Linked DNA regions of Homo sapiens: region 1 is linked to region 2. The links are contacts of gene promoters, found by promoter capture Hi-C in human tissues and cell types (Jung and others, 2019). All regions are on one chromosome and are shown on one strand. Each heading gives the region's core, a stretch centred on a gene start or on the middle of the fragment in contact. The rest is flanking DNA. Distances are from core to core; before and after follow the strand shown. Region 1 overlaps PBK (PDZ binding kinase). Region 2 holds the start of PNOC (prepronociceptin).

Evidence for each region. Contacts are between HindIII fragments. The study calls those that stand out against the background at their distance.
Region 1: a contact is called between a fragment that was not itself captured here and the fragment with the promoter of PNOC in region 2, in 1 of the 25 tissues and cell types used here (dorsolateral prefrontal cortex).

The regions. Positions count from the first base shown.
Region 1 is chr8:27,827,560-27,834,289 of GRCh38, forward strand. It overlaps PBK (PDZ binding kinase), which reads right to left. Exons shown (of 8, transcript NM_018492.4): 2 at 5,497-5,574; 3 at 546-639. The coding sequence starts at 5,554. Among named protein-coding and RNA genes, the nearest start is that of PBK, 6.9 kb to the right of the region's middle. RefSeq lists a silencer at 379-579. The HindIII fragment of the contact is 5,828 bases long and covers 1-5,757 here.
Region 2 is chr8:28,312,269-28,319,022 of GRCh38, forward strand. It overlaps PNOC (prepronociceptin), which reads left to right and starts at 5,000. Exons shown (of 4, transcript NM_006228.5): 1 at 5,000-5,048. RefSeq lists enhancers at 5,993-6,505, 6,506-6,754. The HindIII fragment of the contact is 3,220 bases long and covers 3,606-6,754 here.

The sequences.
Region 1 (6,730 bases), core at 1,594-4,093, 490 kb before region 2:
AAAACACTTTGTTGACAGCTATATTGGCACCATACTTGTTCGATTATTTCATTTTTCTTAACACAATATTCCTACTTTAAAATCATGTATTTACCCTTCTTAATAACAATGCCATAAGAAATGAAAATCTTTTACTTCTTTTAGAAGAGCATATCTTAGGAGGGCAACGCTGCAGAAAAGACAGCAGTCACTGACATCACCCAATACTGGCTTCCTCTTTGAGGTTTTCTCATGAAGAATCTGGTTTAATTACCACAAAGGAACCCTTTCCCCTGCCACTTCCCCTTCTTATGGAAGCCAAGGAAAAATTAAAAAGTAAATGACTTCCCCTTTAATAACCCATCAGGAGGAAGCTAGGAGAAAAGCAGAGGCAGAGCTACAGGCAAAGTTACAAAAGGGTCTAGGGACCGGAATACAGCCATCAGCCAGGATCAGGAGCAGACAACCGAATCTAAATACTGGAATTTTCAGACTACTTCTTTGTCTCCAAGTACAGTAGAATTATAGTTGCATGAAAAAAGGTTAATCTGAAATCTTATACTTACCTTTTCATTAGGTACACATTTACCCCAGTACCAAAGCCAAGCTTCTGCATAAACGGAGAGGCCGGGATATTTATAGTTGGAGTTGAACATAATACTAAATGTCAGAGAAATAAAAAATAAAATTAATAAAAAATAAAAATAAAGCATCTTAACATTCTCAATATACTACTGCCAAGAGTATTAATTGGCACAGTCTTTTTGGAGAGCAATTTGACAACATATATCCTAATTTTAAATGGGTATCTTTTGACCAAGCCTACTTTTGGAGTTTTATCCTACAGTAACTCTGAAGCAGAGATTGGGAAATGGCCTGTTTTTGTATGGCCTACAAGCTAAGAACTGTTTTCACATTTTTAAAACATTGTTAAAAGATAAAGGGGTTGGATGTGGTGGCTCATGCCTATAATCTCAACGCTTTTGGAGTCCGGGGCAGGAGGGTCACTTGAGCCCAGTAGAGACCAGCTTGGGCAACATAAAGAGACTCCATCTCTACACACGAAAAAATTTTTTTAATTAGCCAGGAATGATGGCACACACCTGTGGTCTCAGCTACTTGGGAGAAACACTTGAGCCCAGGAGGTTAAGGGTGCAGGTGCAGTGAGCTGTGTTCAGCCTGGGTGACAGAGCAAGACACAGTCTCAAAAAAAAAAAAAAAAAAAAAAAAAGATGAAAAGATGGAGTTCTGCTTCTGCTCATGAAAAATAATTAACTACTCCTGGACAATTAACTGCTCCTAGAGTTACCATCTCGCCATTAACTAGAAAACTAGACAAAATATAATTGTTTTCAGACACTTGACAACAGGCAGAGCAGTGTTGTGATGCCTGAGAGAAGAGAAACAAATGAGGTGGGCCCTATCACTGCCCTAACTTACTGCTTGAAGGCAGTTTCCAGACTGCAGGACAGAGGTCACATAATCCAGAAGTCCTGTCACATTGAAGAGACAGAGATCAGAGGTCAAGAAGGACTAGGCGGCTAGAATTTGTGGAGCAGAGAACTAGAGAGCTCCAAAGAGAGCACTCCAAAGATCTGAACAGTTTCTCTTTGAGTGTTTGGCCAAGTACTTATCCGCACATAACAATGTGTAGATGCCCCAAAGCTGGGAAAGCACCAGAGGAAAGCAATTGGCTCAACAATTACCAGAGATCATACAAGTCTAGGAACACTTCATATCACCATGAGCTAGAGGATGGTAACCCTGTAACACATAGTAAAGTCCTCTAAAGGGTCACAACTAGATAGTACAGCTAAAGTTTAGCCCCAGATAAACATTCAAAACAAAGCTTAAAAGCCAGTCTCAAAAGGAACAGGCTAATGTGCAGGTAACTTAACCTCAGACCATAACTAAATCAAACACTCTTTAAAGGAATAACAAAATCCAGTACTAGACAATGCAAAATATCTACTGCCCAATCAAAAAGTACCAGGCATGAAAGCAGCAAGAAAATATGACCAATATAGGAGAAAAATAAATCAATAGAGGCCTAGCGCGGTGGCTCACGCCTGTAATCCCAGCACTTTGGGAGGCCGAGGCAGGCAGATCACTAGGTCAGGAGTTCGAGACCAGCCTGGCCAACATGGTGAAACCCCGTCTCTACTAAAGAGGCAAAAAATTAGCCAGGTGTGGTGGCACGTGCCTGTAATCCCAGCTACTCGGGAGGCTGAGGCAGGAGAATGGCGTGAACCCAGGAGGCGGAGGTTACAGTGAGCTGAGATAGCGCCATTGCACTCCAGCCTGGGCGACAGGGCACAAGACTCCATCTCAAAAAATTAAAAAATCAATCAATCAATAGAAACATACCATAAGATGACAGGAGGCCAAGAGTGGTGGCTCACGCCTGTAATCCCAGCACTTTGGGAGGCTGAGGCAGGTGGATCACTTGAGGCCAGGAGTTCAAGACCAGCCTGGCCAACATGGCGAAACCCTGTCTCTACTAAAAATACAAAAATTAGCTGGGCGTGGTAGCACGTGCCTGTAATCCCGACTACTCGGGAGGCTGAGGCAGGATAATTGCTTGAACCCAGGAGGTGGAGGTTGCAGTGAGCTGAGATCGCACCATTGCACTCCGGCCTGGGTGACAGAGCAAGATTCTGTCTCAAGAAAAAAAAAAAAAAAAAAAATGACAGGAATGGCAAAATTAGCAGATAAGAACCTTAAGACAAATCTTAAAAATGTGCTCAATGATACAAAGGAAAATCTGAGCATAACGGAAAAAAAAAGACAAAATAGAAGCTTAGGAATGAAAAATACAATGGATAAGAATAACATCATCTTAGAGCAGAAGAATAACTAAATCTTAAGACAGAGCAACAAAAACTATCAAAAATGAAGCAAAGAGAGAAAAAGGTTAGAAAAAAATCATCAATGAGCTATGGGACAATAGCAAAACAGCCGATTTACATCCAACAATAGACAATTACATTGAGTATAAATGGTCTAAACAGAGCTGTCCAATACATCATGCTGCCATGTGGAAATGTCTATATCTGTGCTGTCTGAGCGCTGAGCACTTAAAATGTGACTAATACAACTGAGGAACTCAATTTGTAATTTTATTTAATTCTAATTAATTTGTATCCAAATTTAAATAACCACATTTAATAATCCAAATTTAAATAACCAAATTTAAATAGCCACATGTAGCTAATGGCAAAACAGTCCAGTTAAAGGAAATTAAAGTTGTCAGAACGGATAAAAACAAGACGAGACATGCCATTTATAATAAACTCAATTTAAATATAAAGACGCAAATAGGGCAAGAGTAAAGGGTTGAAAAACATCATTAAAACACAAATCAAAATAAATCTGGAGTGGCTCCATTACTATCACATAAAGTGGACTCCAGAACAAAGAGTACCACTGAGGATTAAGAAGGGTATTTCGTAACAGTTAAGGTATAAATTCATCAAAAGAAATAACCATCCTAGGCCAGGCATGGTAATCCCAACACTTTGGGATCTGACTTGTGGTTTATGTGTCTTGGTGAATGTTGCATGCACTTGAAAGGGAGGCCAAGGAGAGTGGATCACTTGAGGCCAGGAGTTTGAGACCAGCCTGCCCAACATGGCGAAAACCTGTCTCTACTGAAAATACAAAAATTAGCCGGCCATGGTGGTGCACGCCTGTAATCCCAGCTACTCCAGAGGCCAAGGCACCAGAATCACTTGAGCCCAGGAGGTAGAGGTTGCAGTGAGCCGAGATCACACTGTTGTACTCCATTACGGGTGACAAAAGGAAACTCAAAAAAACAAGAAAAAGAAAAGAAATAACCATCCTAAATGTGTATGTACCTAATAACAAAGCTTCAAAATACATGAAGCAACAACTGATAGAAATTGGGGGTGGGGGGAAGCAGACAAATCCACATTGTAGTTGGAAACTTCAACTCTCTTCTCTCATAATTAATATAAAAAGTATACAGAATATCATTGACATTTGTAGAACATTGACATTTGTAGAACACCGTACCCAGTAAGAGTAGAAAAAAATGCCCTTTTCAAGTGCATGCAACATTCACCAACATACATAAACCTCAAGTCAGACTGATTAAGGAAAAAAATTAAGAAAATATACAATACTAGTACCAGATATGAAAAAGGACACTAGAAGGTTAATAAGGGTGTATCAAGAATAACTTCACACCAGTACATTTGAAAATTTAGAAGTGATGGACAAATTCCTTAAAAAACACTAACAAAATTCACAAAGAAAATAAGAGATCACTTGAATAGCCCTATATCTATTAACTGTGAAATCACAGTTAAACTCTTCCTACTAAGAAAACTCCAGGCCCAGATAGCTTTACTAGTGAATTCCACCAATTTAAGGAGGAATAATACCAATTCTACACAAAGTTAAAGAAAAAGATATTTCTATTAAAAAAAGAGAAACATTTCTCATCTTTATGAATACAGAATAACCTAATATTAAAACTAGACAGATATCCCAAAAAGACAACTGCAGTCCAATATCCCTCATGAATATAGACAATATCAGCAAATCAAGCAATATATAAAATATATCATGACCAAACTGGCTTTACACAAGGAAGTTCAGTTTAACACTTGAAAATTAACATAATTTACCACATTGAGAGATTTTAAAAGAAAATTTAATAGATTCAGAAAAAGCTCTCTACAAAGTTCAATACCCACTCACGATAATAACTAGAAATAGAAGAAAAATTCCTCAAACTAATAAAGGGTATTTGTGAAAAACCTACATCTAACATAATACATTGGGAACAAGGCAAGTATATCCACTAACATTTCTATTCAAAAACATACTGGAGCCAGTGCAATTAAAAAAAGTAAAAGAAACAAAGCCATACAGACTGGGGAACAAAGTAAAACTGTCTTTCTTCATCCACAAATGACCAACCATATACAACATCCCAAGCAATCTATTAAAAAGCTAATAGAATAAGTGAGTTTAGGACGGTTGCAGGATACAAGGTCAATATGAAAAATCTGTCACTAGAAATGGACAACAGAATATTTTCTCATGTTATTTTCTAGAAATTTAATTGTAGCTATTTTTTATATAATAGGAGTTAAGGGTCAAGGCTTATTTTTTGCACGTGGATATCTAGGTGTTTGTTGAAAAGATTTTCCTTTGTCCATTGAGTTGCCTTGGAAAATATCTTTCCCTCACAAGAGCAATGTATGGATGAGAGGGAGAAAGGTAAAGCAGTTCCTTAATGGGTCAAGCTAAGTTGATTCTTGGGCAGGGAGAGCCTCCAAACCTGTTAGATTGTCAATAAAATTAGTCCAGAGATGATCAAACCGTGGCCTATAAAATAAGTCTTATTTGTTAAGATTAACATCATAAAGGGGAGTTACATTAAAGTTTCTAAGTGACCGATAATAAAGGATCAAACTAAATAATACTAGGACATTTCTAAGAGAAACAACAATAGTAAAAAAAAAAATCTTACATCTGCTATCTTACCAGATTTCTTTTTTTCTGATAATTTGCTTGGTGTCTTGAAATTACTGATCCCTTCCATTGTGAAAGCCACTCTCAGTCCTACGATGAAAACAAATTGCAAGTTACACAGCAGATATAAAGAATACAACTCTCATTCATGAAGAAAAATGCCAATAGCCAGGCGCAGTGGATCATGCCTGTAATCCCAGCACTTTGGGAGGCTGAGGTGGGTGGATCACCTGAGGTCGGTGGATCACCTGAGGTCGGGAGTTCGAGACCAGCCCGACCAATATGGAGAAACCCCGTCTCTACTAAAAATACAAAATCAGCCAGGCGTGGTGGCGCATGCGTGTAATCCCAGCTGCTTGGGAGGCTGAGGCAGGAGAATCGCTTGAACCTGGGAGGCAGAGGTTGCGGTGAGCCGAGATCGTGCCATTGCACTCCAGCCTGGGCAACAAGAGCAAAACTCCGTCTCAAAAAAAAAAAAAAGCCTATAACATTATCGTTCACGTTATCACAAACAAAATTTGAGAGCTAAAAAGGACCTCAACAAACATTTAGCCCAATTTTACTTAAAATGAGGAAACTAAAACCAAAAAGTACAATTACTTACCCCCATCATAATATTAGTGATTGGGTATTTTTGTTTTCATTATAAAGTAATATATGCACTTAGCTAAAAAAAAAATCACCTAGTACAAAAAAGTAAACAGTATGTCTCCCTGTTATACTTCCCAGGAGCAGTTGTTAACAGCTCTCTTATATCCTTTAAGGAAACTGTTCAAGCAGCATTATTCATAACAGCCAAAAGGCAGAAACAACAGAACTCTGCATCAGATGATGAATGGATAAACAAAATGTGGCATATCTATACAATGGAATATTATTCAGTCATAAAAAGGAATAAAGTGCTGATATATACAAGAATGAACCTTGAAAACATTATACTAAATGAAAGAAGCCAGACACATAAAGGCTACATATATGATGATCCTTTTTTTTTTTTTTTTTTAGATGGAGTCTCACTCTGTCGCCCAGGCTGGAGTGCAGTGGCATGATCTCGACTCACTGCAACCTCTGCCTCCCAGGTTCAAGCAATTCTCCTGCCTTAGCCTCCTGAGTAGCTGGGACTACCAGCGCCCACCACCACACCTGGCTAATTTTTATATTTTTGGTAGAGACGGTGTTTCACCATATTGGCCAGGCTGGTCACGAACTCCCGACCTTGTGATAATGCCCGCCTGGGCCTCCCAAA
Region 2 (6,754 bases), core at 3,750-6,249:
GAAGCCCTGTCTGTGGCACTGGGTTCTAACAGTCCGAGCAGACTAATACACCCACTAATCCTTCTACATGCCTGTACTAAAGCCCAGTGGCCACTTTCCTGCCCACTCAGAACCTGCAATTTGTCCTCAGCATCTTAACACGTCATTCAAAAAATAAGATAAACATCACTTGAACATCACTCTCCTCTCTTGAACTTCTCTTTCACTTCCAGTCTGATCCACAATTAGCACCTTATCATGTGCTCCCTAATTCTCAAATAGTCTGAGTCACTATAGCAAATGCTGTGCTGGTCACCATTCATTGATCTAACTTGTCCCCTGGGCCGGCTTCTTGAGTGTAAGGACATCTTTCATTCTCACATCACCTAGCCCAGCGAGGCTGGATACTCTGGTAGTCAAACCTATACTTGCAAAGGCAATCATTGGCCATTTGCATTGAAACTGTATTCACCCAACTCTTCCTTTAAACCTAGCTCTTGCTGATTACTAAAGTGTAACTTGCCCTCAATAGTTCAAAAGTCCATCCATATTTTGATGCAAAGTTGTGAAGAAATGTGTGTGTCCCTCTATTTTTAAAATCCATTGTGTTCTGACTTAAAAGTGTTTTAAAATGTGAAGAGTTTGCCCTCATTGAGTAAGAAGCAGCTTTTCCAGTGGGACCCTGCTAACGTGGTTACTAAGGAGACCAATTGGAGGTAGGCGCCGTAATTAATCAGTAAATTCCAAGCAGCCAAATACCTGGCCAGGAGAGGCTCTTTACTCTGAGAGGGGAAAATTGGCAGGTGGGTGGAGGTGCGTTGAGCTGCACATGGGGCCCAGCTGCAGCTGCCTCCTTCCCTTGTACTTCCTCTACTGAGATATTCTGATGACAATTTTAAGAGCTTTCTCAATCTGCCTCAAAACTTACCTATCAGTACAGATTGGATTCTAATGTTTGCAGCCTCCCTGGTTGGGCCTCTATTGCAAAGAAGATGCCAAGCTGGTGTGGGCAGGAGTGAACTTCCGCCACCTCATAAGCAGAAGAAATCATTATTTTATTTTATTTTATTTTATTTTTATGAGACAAGGTCTTACTCTGTTACCCAGGCTGGAGTGCAGTGGCTCAATCATGCCTCACTGCAGCCTCAACTTCCCAGGCTCAAGTAATCCTCCCTCCTCAGCCTCCCAAGTAGCTGAGACTACAGGTGCTTACCACCACACCTGGCTAGTTTTTTATATTTTATAGAGACAGGGTCTTGCCGTGTTGCCCAGACTGGTCTTGAACTCCTGGGCTCAAGCAAACCTCCCACCTTGGCCTCCTAAAGTGCTGGGATTACAGGCATGAACCACCACGCCCAGCCAAGAATTTTATTAATTCCAAGTTCTTGTGCACACACACACACACGCATACACACACACGCGCGTGCACACACACACAAAGCAGTAGAAATAAGAACATGTGACCTTTCTTTTCCAACTATTTTAATAAATGTATCCTGCCAATCAGAAAAGCAGGGGGCAGCTTGCTGCTCTGTGACCAGTTACCATACCCAAGGGAAGCCCATGGCTCTCAAAGTGCCAAGTCTCAGTGGCTGTGTGGCAAGGGGGAAGCCCTGAAGCCATCACAAACGCCACACAGTCTGCACCATTTCTAGTCTACTTGTGCTTTTCTGAGGGGCAAGATTCTTCTACTCCCCCACCCAACAGTGGTTTTAAACTCCCTCCTGGGTTCATCCTGCCCTTCCCCATCCATCACTGGAGACAGCCTGCCACCACATGCAGCTTCATTCAACCCACCAAGAATATCCAGGTGTTGGGTTCAACTCTTCTGTCTGGTAAATGAGGAAAGAAAAGTCCAGAGAAGCTAAGTGACTTTTCACTCTTGCTCTTTCTCTTCCTCAACTGCAAGGGAAGAAAAGCATTTAGCTGCCTGAACATCCTGGGAATGACGAGGTGCTCAAAGGCAGGTGTGTTGGTTTAAGGTAATTTTCCACTGGATGTAATAGAAAATCCAACTAAATGGCTTAAATCATAGGAAGTAAAAGTTTCAAATGCCTCCAATGAATGGCTTCTGCATAGCCACCCTCTATTATCCTGGGACTTTGTAGTCTCCACCCAGCCTGGCTCTGGACAGTCTTGCAACTGGCCTTAGCCAACAAATGTAGCAAAAGCAATGGACTGCCAGCTCCATGCTTAGGTCTCAAGAGGTTCTGTGTGCTTGCGGTTGTTCCCTTGCTTGATTGTATTTGCTTGTGCTTTCACTTCAGGCTTGCCATGAGACTATGCCAGGTTAATATGCTGGAGGGATGTGAGAGACCCATGAAGGATAAGACATGTGCAAGAGAACCAAGGTCCCCAGCTGACACCCAGCCAACTTTCTGAGTCCAACTGCAGGTGCAGAAGAGAGTCAGGCTGAGACCAGAAGAACTGCCCTGCTGAGACTAGCCAAAATTCCCAATCTGTAGAATCATGAGTCAAATACGTGGTCTGTTGTTTCAAGCCTCTGGCCTTGGTGTGGCTTGTTATGCAGCAATGGGTAACTGAACCCTGACTGACATTTGAAATAAATGTTTGGGGTTTTTTTTGTTTTTTTTTTGTTTTTAAAAAAAGGTTGAAGTTTGGAGTCCAAGACTGATATGGCCATTCCATTAGTCATGGGGGACCCAAAATCCTTCCATCTTTATGTTCCATCATATTTACTCATGGCTTCCATCCTCAAAGTTGTCTTATCTCATAATCCAAGATAGCTGCTAGAGCTCCAGCCATCACATTTGTGTCCCAGGCAGGATGGAGGGAGGACAAAGAAGAGAGAGAGGCCTTCAGTGAGTTGACCCCCTTTAAAAGAGCTTTCCCAGCCAGGCTCAGTAGCTCACACCTGTAATCCCAGCACTTTGGGAGGCCGAAGTGGGCAGATCACAAGGTCAGGAGATCAAGACCATCCTGGCTAACATGGTGAAACCCCGTCTCTACTAAAAAAAAATACAAAAAAAAAATTAGCCAGGCATGGTGGCAGGTGCCTGTAGTCCCAGCTACTCAGGAGGCTGAGGCAGGAGAATGGCATGAACCTGGGAGGCAGAGCTTGCAGTGAGCTGAGTTGGCGCCACTGCACTCCAGCCTGGGCGACAGAGCAAGACTCCGTCTAAAAAAAAAAAAAAAAAAGCTTTCCTGGAAACCCCACCCAAGGACCTGCAGCTTAATGCTCATTGGCAACCCTTGGTCAATGGGAAATGTAGTCTTTTAGCTAAGTGCATTGATGCCTGGAATAAAATCAAGGGTACCGTTTAGTAAGGAAGAACAGGGAAATGGGGATTGGGTAGGCAGCCTGCAATATCTGCCACATCATGTATGAAATCAGGTTCCAGGCCTGAGACACTGAAGTACATCAGGATGCAAAAGTGACCCCGTGTCAGTCAGTGAACATGCTGGTTTCCCAAAGAGTCCAAAATGGTAGCTGCGACCTGCAGTGTAAGGTTTGGGCAACAGAGATCTAAGTGAAGAATCATGAGTATGCTGGTCTCCTGAGCCCTTTTGCTGTGAACACAGACGGAAGGGAAATTTTATTCTCAGAACCTGTTGCTCTTAACCTGAGCAGATGTTTGCTGTCTTTTTCCTATTTTCTTTTTATGGAGATGTAATTCCCATAACATAAAATGCACCATTTTAAAGCATACAATTTGGTGGGTTTTAGTATTCTTGCTATGTTGTGCAACCATCACCTCAGTCTAAATCCAGAACATTTCCATTACCCCAAAAAGAAACCCTATACCATTTGCAGTCAGGGCAGATGCTTCCCTCAATCCTTCTCCACCCAGTCCTGGGTAGACCAGAGAGCTGGACTTAACCACATGAATGAGTGCTTGAGCTCCTTGGATGACATAGGTTCAAACCCTGGGATTCTGGAATATTTTAGACCCTCTTAGGAAAACCAAGGACAGGGTCATGGTGAAATTCACCTAAGGTAAGGAAACGTGGGGTCCACAAGGATGCTAAACCCTCAAGCCTGTGCCTTCAGCCTGTGAGCTCCTTTCCTGCAGCCCACAACCCCCGGCGGCTGTAGAAGACAAAGAGGCTCTGCAGTAAGGGACAGGGAAGCTTCCAGAGCTTCTGAGCCTCCAGGGCCCTCGGTAGTGATGCCCTAAGTTGCAGAAGCTTTAAAAGCTCTCTGTTGTGACACCAGACACTGATATGGGATTTCTACATCCAGGTGGTACTAATCAGTGTGAAAAGCGGGCTGAGAGGAGAGGGAGGATGCAGCACATTCATTAAGGGCCTCGTGTGTTGTAGATTCAAACAGAATCTCCTTTTTCTACTCACAACCATCCTGGGCAGTATTAGACTCATTTTCCGGAAGGAGGACTTGAGGTTCACAAAGAGATGTGCCTTGCTCTGACTGTACAGCCGAATTTCAGACACTTCCATCTGAGCCTCGAGTCTCAGCATTCTCCATTGCACCATGCTGTGGGCACCTGTGGAAATGCCTCCTGACCTGGCCCAGGGCAGGTGCAGCCACCTCTTGAGTGGCCTAGTTAGGGGCAATGACATTAGGTCAGGGCTTGGCTTAGCTCAGCCCTGGGCTCCTCCGAGTCGGTAGGAGCTTGGCATGAGCTCCCCTCCCTTCTGCCTGCCTCCTATTCTTCACTCCTCAGGCAAAAAGGTTGCTCAAGGAGACTCCAGGATTTGGGGTCTGCCTCGTCACTGTCACCAGGAGGCTTTTTTTCTGACTTGCCAGAGCTCCCCATCAGTCCTCACAGAGCCTCTGGAAGCACAGGGAAGGCAGCTGTGGGATCCTGGCTGAACAGAGTCCAGGTGAAGCAGGCTTGAGAATGGATTGATGGGGAGGTGGGGATGTCACAGGTCTGATGGCAGAGCCGGGGGAAGGGAACAGCCAGGAAGGCTTGCAGGTTCTGCTGTTTGGTTGCTGAAGGGGGTCAGTGTGTGTATGTGTCATGGAGGTGGGCAGGGAAGGGGAGGGCTGTGCGTGGGGGAGAGGATATATATGCTGGTGTGGCTGAGAAAGCGGAACCGAGCCTCGCATCCATCGGAGGGAGCCGGGGACTGACAGCTCTCAGGTAGGCAACTGCACGGGGCCCCCAGCCCGACCGCGACTAACTGGACTAACTGCGTGGAGCTCCGGGAGGGCAGGGCCACCAGGGGCTGGCTCCTCGGCCTCTCTCCTTTGTCCAGTGTGGATGCTGCTGGCCTCTTGCGAGATGGTTTCTTCATTCATCTCCTTTGTAGCGCTTGGATGGTGGGGAACGGGGGAGGGCTGAGTCTCTTTTTTAACCTCAGACAGACGCAGAAGCAGAAAGAGGGGAACTTGGAAATGAGGAAAAGTTTTGCTTCCCCAGCTGTGGCCCCTACGTGGTTGTTGCTCTGTGTCGAGAGGAGGCTGCTGGAGGAGTGAGGCCAGAGGAGGGGCAGGCACTTGGGAGGGGGTTTGCCTTCCACGGGGCGGCCCCCAGGAAGACCCTGGCCCCCTCATGAGGGTTTCCTCTCAGTGGCTTCCTTTCCTCTCAGATGCGGTGCGCAGGCTGCTTCTCCGCCTATCACTGAACTTGATGCCATCCAGATGGGAGTTTTTAATCCGGAGGGAGCCCTTCTCCCTTCTGCCCCCAGCAGAAATTGCTACAAATAATGGGGAAGCGCCAGATCTGGGGAGTGTGCTTCACCTGTATACACACACTGCTGAGCGCCACGGCGTGTGAATTCCAGAGAGCATTTCTACGGGCGTGACCTTGGTCTCCCAGAACCCGATTCATTTAGAGGGCTCTTCTCTTGCTTGGCATCCCTCTCCCCCTGCCCATCTCCCCCACCTAAAGGTCTTTGCCCAGGTCATGCAGAATACTCCGTTCATAGTCACCGCATCCCAACTCTCGAGGCTCTCTCAGCCACCTTCTTTCTTCCTCCTCTCTTTGTGCATCTCTCTCCCTCGAGTCTTGCTTCCCCGGCTTCACTACCCAGCCCCTCCTCCCCGAATCTCGCTCTGAACATGGGCAAGTTCTGGGGGAATTTCAAGTAAGGCAGGATGATTCGGGAAATGGACTATTTAAAGCAAGCTGCTTTGGACTTGAATACCCCCATCCTGCGCTTAAACATCTGTGTTTAGCTTCCTCAAGCAGCCCATAATTGCCCCAATTATAACCAATAACATTGTTCGGCAGACTAACAAAAGATGAGCTTTGCACGGCATTCGCCAGCAAGCCCAAACCAGAGTTTTCAACATAGATGGGAAAAGTAACTGCCTGGCTTCTTATCAAAACCTCCCAAAGCAAATACTGCTCTTTTTCGCTGCTTGTGGGTGGCTACTGCATGCAGCCTCTTTTTTTCTCATTTGTAAAGTGTGGCAGGGAAATATTCTACAAGCTTACACTGAGGCTATGTTACCTTTAACAAAAAGGATTCGTGCTCCTTTGGGCTTGCTGAGTCTTCTGCAGAGGAGGGTCCCTGGAAAACCCATCCCCAACCATCACCACCTCTGTAAAAGCATGTGCCGCCTGGTGCTGCCTGGCGAGGGCGCTGTGGTACAGCCTCGGGTCATTTTGAGGGCGCAGTTTTGTTGCGCACAGGGCAGCAGCCCCTGCTTTATCAGCTGAAGGCTGAGAGTACTTACGGATTTGTAAAATGCAGGCGAGTTTGCATTGTCAGTGAAGGGAGTGATTGCAGGATTAGGCTCAAACCTGTGCTCCCTGGAGCCTATGACAAGAGCTGTCACTAAGCTATCCTGTATTCAATCAATCAGGTAGTTACCGTCTACACTCCACCAGGCAGGGAGGCT